2 separate regions of the Homo sapiens genome follow, and region 1 is linked to region 2. The links are contacts of gene promoters, found by promoter capture Hi-C in human tissues and cell types (Jung and others, 2019). All regions are on one chromosome and are shown on one strand. Each heading gives the region's core, a stretch centred on a gene start or on the middle of the fragment in contact. The rest is flanking DNA. Distances are from core to core; before and after follow the strand shown.

Region 1 (4,050 bases), core at 743-3,242, 590 kb after region 2:
AGAGCTGGTTTTATTCCAATGTACTCTTTATACTTAATATACACCCTTTTGGAACCCAACCCTAAATATGGGGTCAGGGATGTCTGCCAGGGCCCCCAGCCTTGCTTGGCAGGCTCTGGACACCAGTGATTGTCCCCGTCACCCTGTGAGGCTGTCAAAAGTGCTGCCTGGCCTCTGACTTTCCTCTTCCAGATCAGCTAATGCTCTCTGGGGAGAAGGCGCCCCAAATGCAGGCTTCACCTTTCTGAATTTCCTTCTCGGATTTTACTCACTATCTCGTCACTCTTCGATGTTTCTAGGAAGATCTTAAAATCTTCTGTGCATCTGTTTCCTTATCTTCAGAGAAATGGTGGGTCTGAACTCTGTAGCCCGTCATCACTTGAAGGGCCACAAAGCGCGTCTCGCGAAATCCACCCCCTGCAGGAGCTCTGCCTGGTGACAGGGCTCAGGACCCCTCTGCTCTCAGTTCTGTCCTCACCTTCCCTCCTGGGGAATGTCTTTCCAGTGTATGGGTTTCCTAATTCCCTTCTTGTTTCTTCCCAATCACTCTTCTTCTACCAGGGGAAGCCTCTTCTCTCTCTGAACTTGGATTTTGAACAAAAGCCAGAAAGTGTTCCTGGGAATTTTCTGCCTCTTGCCCACCACACCCTTCCCTTCTACCTGTAACTAGAGAAGCCTGACTGAGCCAGACTCAGTGGGATTACATGGCTCACGCCTCTAATCCCAGCACTTTGGGGAGCTGAGGCAGGTGAATGGCCTGAGGTCAGGAGTTTGAGACCAGCCTGGCCAACATGGTGAAACCCCGTCTCTACTAAAAACACAAAAATTAGCTGGACATGGTGGTGGGTGCCTGTAATCCTAGCTACTTGGGAGGTTGAGGTAGGAGAATCCCTTGAACCCGAGAGGCGGAGGTTGCAGTGAGCCGAGATCGTGACACTGCACTCCAGCCTGGGTGAGAAAATTAGACTTCATTTCAAAAAAAAGAAAAAGAAAAAAAAAGAAGCTTGACTGCACAGTGCTCACCTGAGAGATAGGAGAAAAAATACATGATTAAAAAATGCTAATTAATGCTTTAACGATTACTCAGCCACACACATGTTAGACTTGCATGAGGGTCCATTTAAGGAAAGATAATGAGTAGAAGGCTACAATTCTGTTCTAAAAATGAGGAAAGCATGATCTTGGAGCCACACTGCTTGGGTTTGAATCTGGGCTCCACCCCTCACAGTCATTCACTTCCTATGTAACCCACTGGGCACTTCACACTGAGCCAAACACTTCCTGAGCATTTGCAATAAACCTCTTGAGTGAAGTGCTGTTATTACCCCCTCCTTTGAACTGTGTAACTTGAGCAGCCTACGTATTACAAACTCTGTAAACCATCAGAGGCTATACAGGAGTGTCATCACCACCATCATCACCATCACCATCATCACCACCATCACCATCATCATCATCACCATCATCACCATCATCAACATCACCATCATCACCATCATCACCATCATCATTATCATCATCGCCATCATCACCATCATCATTATCACCATAATCACCATCATCATCATCATTATGCTAGAAGAGACGTTTCTCAAACATCTGGATGATACCTGGACGTGGCAGACATGGATCCAAGATGATCTCAGATAGGTTTGGGGGAAAGAGAGAGAGAGAAGGAGAGAGAGACAGAGACAGAGACACAGAGAGACACGAGCGAAAACTGGCCATATCAAAAGTAACAATCGACCGTGTGGAATGCATTTCCCAGCATGAATTCTGAGGCATCTTAGGCCTAAAAGAAGACCAGAGAAGCGGCTGGGCGGGGTGGCTCATGTCTGTAATCCCAGCACTTTGGGAGGCCGAGGTGGGCGGATCACAAGGTCAGGAGTTCGAGACCATCCTGGCTAACACAGTGAAACCCCGTCTCTACTAAAAATACAAAATATTAGCCGGGCATGGTGGCGCCTGTAGTCCCAGGTACTTGGGAGGCTGAGCCAACAGAATGGCCTGAACTGGGGAGGCAGAGCTTGCAGTGAGCCGAGATCACGCCACTGCACTCCAGCCTGAGCAATAGCACAAGAATCTGTCTCAAAAAAAAAAAAAAAAGAAGACAGAGAAGCATATTCTAATTAACTAGTTTAAGAGGAACTTAAGCTAAATTTCCTTAGACATCCTAAATGGACATTGGCCCTTTTCACATTCTGAGAAAATTTCTCAGGAAAAAAAAAAAAAAAAAGAAGCAGGGAAATTTACTTAATCCATTACTTCCCAGGTTTCATTGCTGTGGAACACGGTTTCTTACTGACACCGGTGACAATCTAAGAAGCGTATTTTGTAATGTGTAAATTAAAATGTGGCTCCTTCCTCACTTATTAGGAGCTGCTGGCATTGGAAGAAGAAATGGTGAAACTGTAATGAGAAATTAATGAATAAGAAAGAAAACTGAGAGAATACTTTAAACCAACAGCTGATGCTTTAAAAATAAATAAGTTCAACAGTTAGTCTCTGACAAATCTAATCAATAAAAAAAAGAAAACAGATTAAATTAAGCAGAAGAAAGAGGGTGTGATCAATGCAGAGAGGATTCTCAAAGCCTGAGATGAAACTACGCACGGTTCTATGCTGATCAATTAGAAAATCTCCATGAAATGGACAGGTTTCTGTTCCCTCCCCAAATGATTAAAGCAGAAGTAGCTTATCTGGGAAAAAAATGCTATTTCCCATCTCTGGTACCCAGTGCCAGAAATTCCAGTCAATTAGACTTAATAAGTTGAGGGAGTGAGCTTCCTCAAGCAGGAGAGACAGACACTCTTATCTGCCAAGGACATGTTTATCTAGCTAGATCATGAATAATTGAGAAGTAGAGTCACAGGAAAAAAGGACAAAACCCAGCACGAGTCAGATAGAGACTGTCAAGGTAAATGTGATAAAATTAAACTAAGTAGCTATAACAAGAGATGTATAAGACCTGTTTGAAGGAAAATACAAAACTTGATTGTGGAACAGGGTTGAAACTGGAAGGAGACAAATGTCAGAGAGCACTTCCTCTCCACAGTGACCCTGCAGTTGCACAGCCACATGAGTGTGTACAACCTTCAACGGAGCATGTGTATTTACATGCAGTGCGATCTTCCCTTGGTATCTGCAGGGTTGGTTCCAGGACACACCTCCACCCCCACAGAATCTGAAGATGCTCAGGTCCCTTACTTAATGGTGCAGTATTTGCATATAACTGACACACACCCTCCAGTATACTTTAAATCATCTCTAGATTACTTATAATACCTGATGCCATGTCAATGCTATGTAAATAGTTGTTATACTGTATTGCTTTTTTTTTTTTTTTCTTGAGACAGAGTCCCGCCCAGGCTGGAGTGCAGTGGCGCGATCTCGGCTCACTGCAAACTCCGCCTCCAGGGTTCACGCCATTCTCCTGCCTCAGCCTCCCGAGTAGCTGGGACTACAGGCACCCACCACCACGCCCGGCTAATTTTTTGTATTTTTAGTAGAGACGGGGTTTCACCGTGTTAGTCAGGATGGTCTCAAACTCCTGACCTCGTGATCCACCTGTCTCGGCCTCCCAAAGTGCTAGGATTACAGGCATGAGCCACCGCGACTGGCCTTTTTTTTTTTTTTTTTTTTTTTGAGAGAGTCTCTCTCTGTCACCCAGGCTGGAGTGCAGTGGTGTGATCTCAGCTGACTGCAACCTCCACCTTCTGGGTTCAAGGGATCCTCCTGCCTCAGCCTCCCAAGTAGCTGGGATTACAGGCACCCACCACCACACTCAACTAATATTTTGTATTTTTAGTAGAGACGGGGTTTCACCACGTTGGCCAGGCTGGTCTCAAACTCCTGACCTCAAGTGATGCACCTGCCTTGGCCTCCCAAAGTGCTGGGATTACAGGCGTGAGCCACCGTGCCCAGCCTCTTAATTGTTTTTAAAAAGTCAGCTGAGGCTTAGCATGTAGAAAGCCACAAAAGAACACCACTCCTAACCTAACGGTGAGTAAAGGTACAAAACTGGAATTTTTCTTGAGCCCATGAGAGAGC
Region 2 (3,944 bases), core at 914-3,413:
GGTGCAGACCAAGGCCTAGGAAGAGAAGAGTCAGCAGGAACACAACTGTGCATGCTTCTTGCATTCAGAACCTTCCTAGGCACGGTTTCTAATCCCAACAGCCTGCAAAGGAGGTGTCATCAGTCCCACGTCCAGATGAGGGAGCTGAGGCATCACCTCCCAGCCAAGCTCTCCAAGGGAAGCAGGGATTGGAGCACCTCTGTCTTGACACCCACCTCCTCTTTCTGTGGGTGTGCAGGGAAGGAGGCCAGGTGCAGGCTCCTGAGGAAGCCAGCCGGGGACCCCAAAGAGTGGCCCAGACTCCTTGCCTGTGTAGCAGTTGGGATGGGGCCTGGCACATAGTAGGTGCTCAGTACACATTAGCTGCCGTGACTGTTATCAGTCTGTGGGAACAAAACTGTCACCTGCATCTCCATCTGGTCAGGGCCAGGATGGGTTCTGCACCTCCCAGAGAGAGTTGGGACGTTTCCAAGGGTTCCATGAGACAAAGTCCTATATTCAAAAGTTTGCAAGCTCTGGGTTGGTGGTTCTCAACTAGGAGTGATTTTCTCCCCTACAGGACACCTAACAATGTCAGAGACATTTTTGGTTGTCACACTGTGTGCCTGCACTTGAGCGTGCGCGTACACACTATTGGCAAATAATAGTGTCAGGGTGTATGTGAAGCATCTTTTTTAGACATCCTATTTCATTTCAATACTGGATGGTTCCTTACCTCCTTACTTGGAGATGAGTTCATTATCGATACCGCCTGCCCCCCAGAACCACTGAGCATAGAAGCCCCAGGAAGGCAAGGGTTTCTGTCTGTTTTGCTCCCTGTTACAGTCACAGTGCCTAGAATAGTGACTGGCACATAATAGGTGTTCAATAAATGTCAACCCACCGCCAAAAAGCGGCGGGAGGATGGAGTGGGGTGGAGGCTGGGGCTAGCCAGCTGCCCTCTGGAAAGAGCAGTCCCTGTGGGGGCCCTGACTCAGCAGCCTGACTCTGCCGGGCCCCAGCCAGACCCTTCTGTGTGCAGCAACCTGGAAAGTCTCCAGACCCACCCTGCCGACCCTCTCTGGGCCTCAGTTTCCTCACCTACAAACAGGTCCACCCGCCCTCCCTCCTTCCGCCCCTGCAGAAACGTCTGACGGGGAAGTACCTGGATGTCACTCTGGACTAGATGGAGCCCGCCCACCAGCCAAGCCCTGGGCACCCCCCGCCCCACACCTGGATGAGCTCATCGCAGGTGGCGAAGTCAGTGACCAAGAAGTTGCGTCCGTCAGGCCAGCGGGTCAGCGAAATGCCCAGCCGCTGGGAGGCCAGGACGTGGGCGTCGGGGGGCAGAGCATCCTGCAGCTGCTGCTTGACGTGCTCGATGGGCGCGTAGGCCGGGTGCAGGATGCTTAGGCTCAGCCGCTCCAACTGCCCAACCATGCCCAGGAGGTGGGAGCAGCAGAAGTCTGCAGTGGGGGCAGGGAAAGGGAGACCTCAGCGCCCAGGGATCCTGCCAGTCCCTCCACACCCCCACTGCCCTCCTAGGTGCAGTGGGAGCGGGGTCCTCCCCACTCCAGCTCAGAATTTCTGGGCTCGGCCCCGGATTCAAATGATCCGTTCACCTTTTCACTTTTTGCCCCGCCGACCTGGGAAACAGAGTTTCTGGCTCTGAGCCACGATCCCTCCTCTGCAAATGGGGGTCACCTAGTCCCCAGCACTCGGTGTTCTCATGGGATTAAATGAGGCTGTGCCGGGGGTAGAGGGCGCAGAGCACAGCGCCAGGCACCAGCGTCTCTGGGCTCGATCCGCTTTCATTAAGCTGTCCCCGCCCCTTTTCGCCCCCGCGGTCCGGGACTCACCGACCGACTTGCCGCAGACGATGCTGACTGCGTTGAGCGCCCCAGACGAGGAACCGTAGATGCGGCGGGCGCCCTGGAGGAGGCGCGGGGCTCGCTGGCGCAGGCATTCGGTGGCGCCCACGTGGTGGGCGCCCAGGTAGCCGGCGCCGGAGAAGGACAGGTTCCATCTGCCCTCCTCCTCTAAGAAGCCCATGGCGGGTGGACCGGGCGGGGTGATCGGGACGAGGAAGGGTCACTCCGTGACCCGGGATAGGGCCGGGATGCAGCCTTGGACGGGGCTGGGCCCAAATGTGGGCTCTGGAGGGAGCCGGGCTGGGGCTGGTGCTGGTGCTCCCTGCGCCGCCCCCGGGCTGCGTCACCTGCGCCCCAGCCAATGAAGTCCCCGGGTCGCGATCAGCCCCCACTCCAGTTGTGCGCCAGGTGTGCCCCAGAAGTGCCCGCGCGCTGTGTATACGCTGGCGCCGCCCCCACGCGCCCGCCCCGGATCCGCATCGGGTCATAGATTTCTGGGTGACACGGCAGGGGAGTGGGACCAAATCTTGCCTGATCTCTGGTAGTCTGGGCAGATGTTATTCCAGTCCTCATTACGCAAATGAGGCAACTGAGGCGCAGCCCAGGATGGTGACAGCCAGGAAGTGGCAGAGTCGGACCCAGGACACCTGGTCTTTGGGGTCAAACCAGGCTTAAGTCCGCAGCTGTGCTGGTTCCAGGGAGGGACTTGAGGGAAAGAGAGGTCTCGGGGCCAGCCTCCGCTCCAGCCAGCACCACTGCACCTTCCCCTGGCTCACCCGCTCTCCAAGCCTCACCTACCACTACAGCCTGCTCAAACATCCCACCTCCTCCCTCCTCCCCTAATCAATCCATTGGAAAGTGCTTTATAAACTGCAAAGCTCCAAGAACTTGGGTTTGTAGTGATTAGGGCTGTCTGGGCTCCAATTCTGGCTCCAGAATGTCTTGGCTGGTGACCCTGGATAATTTAACTGATCTGTGCCTCAGTTTTCTCATCCATCAAGTGGGGATAATAACATTACTTACTCCATAGGACCGGTAAGGATTAGAGTTAATGCAAGTAACGTGTTTGGAATAGCGCCCGGCACTGGATAAGCACACAAACAATGGTTACTACGGTGATTGTTTTAATCAAGTGGCGCACAATCAATGGCAACCGCTATGTTATTTATTTATTTATTTAATTTTGAGGCAGAGTCTCACTCTGTCACCCAGGCTGGGGTGCAGTGGCACAATCTCGGCTTACTGCAACCACCACCTCCCAGGTTCAAGCAATTATCCTGCCTCAGCCTCCCAAGTAGCTGGGACTACAGGCACGCACCACCACGCCCAGCTAATTTTTGTTATTTTCGGTAGAGACAGGGTTTCACCATGCTGCTCAGGCTGGTCTCGAACTCCTGGCCTCAGATGATCTGCCCACCTCAGCCTCCCAAAGTGCTGGGATTACAGGCAGGAGCCACTGCGCCCATCCCTGTGTTACTGCTTTAATCACATGGCACATATCAGTGCCTTCTCATGTGAGCTCCTTGAGGGCCAGGTCCTCCATCTGTGCCTGGAAGAAGTGTGGCACAGTGTTTGTGGACTGAATGCTCAGCCCATGGCCTGGGTGGGTCATTTTCGGAGGAAGAGGTGGGAGGATCTGCTTCTCTTAGCCTCACACCTACCTCTTCCTTGACCTGGGAGTGAAGGGCAGCTTGCCCATGGGCACTGGGTGCAGAAGGCACCCTGGGACAGGCCAGCCCAGCCTCCCCTCCCACAGAGGTGGGCGGTACCGGGCTTTGCTGATCCCACACCAGGGGCGGCATCCTTGCCTCAAAGACCATGGGCCTGCACAGACTCACCCACCTGGTGGCAGGTACCCCAGGCTATCTCCATTGCGGGAAGGACCCAGCCCCAGCTGCAGGGGGTAATTAGAAGCCATGTGCTGACTCTGCTCCAGGAGGGAACCAGGTCACAGCAGGCACAGCCAGGAACATTTCACCCACAGTTGTGACTGTGCCGGAGGCAGACTGAGCCTCCCTGGAACAGTGGACCACCAGTGTGAGTTCAGGAAGGGAGGAGTTCAGGGGCTGGGAGTTCAGCAGGGACATGTTCCGG

Evidence for each region. Contacts are between HindIII fragments. The study calls those that stand out against the background at their distance.
Region 1: a contact is called between a fragment that was not itself captured here and the fragment with the promoter of PNPLA5 in region 2, in 2 of the 25 tissues and cell types used here (IMR-90 fibroblasts and mesendoderm cells).

Annotation. Positions count from the first base shown.
Region 1 is chr22:44,478,469-44,482,518 of GRCh38, forward strand. No RefSeq gene overlaps it. Among named protein-coding and RNA genes, the nearest start is that of RTL6, 18 kb to the right of the region's middle. The HindIII fragment of the contact is 4,944 bases long and covers 1-4,050 here.
Region 2 is chr22:43,889,850-43,893,793 of GRCh38, forward strand. PNPLA5 (patatin like domain 5, triacylglycerol lipase) reads right to left here and starts at 2,164. Exons shown (of 9, transcript NM_138814.4): 1 at 1,839-2,164; 2 at 1,213-1,445; 3 at 1-15. The coding sequence starts at 2,031. The HindIII fragment of the contact is 8,381 bases long and covers 1-3,944 here.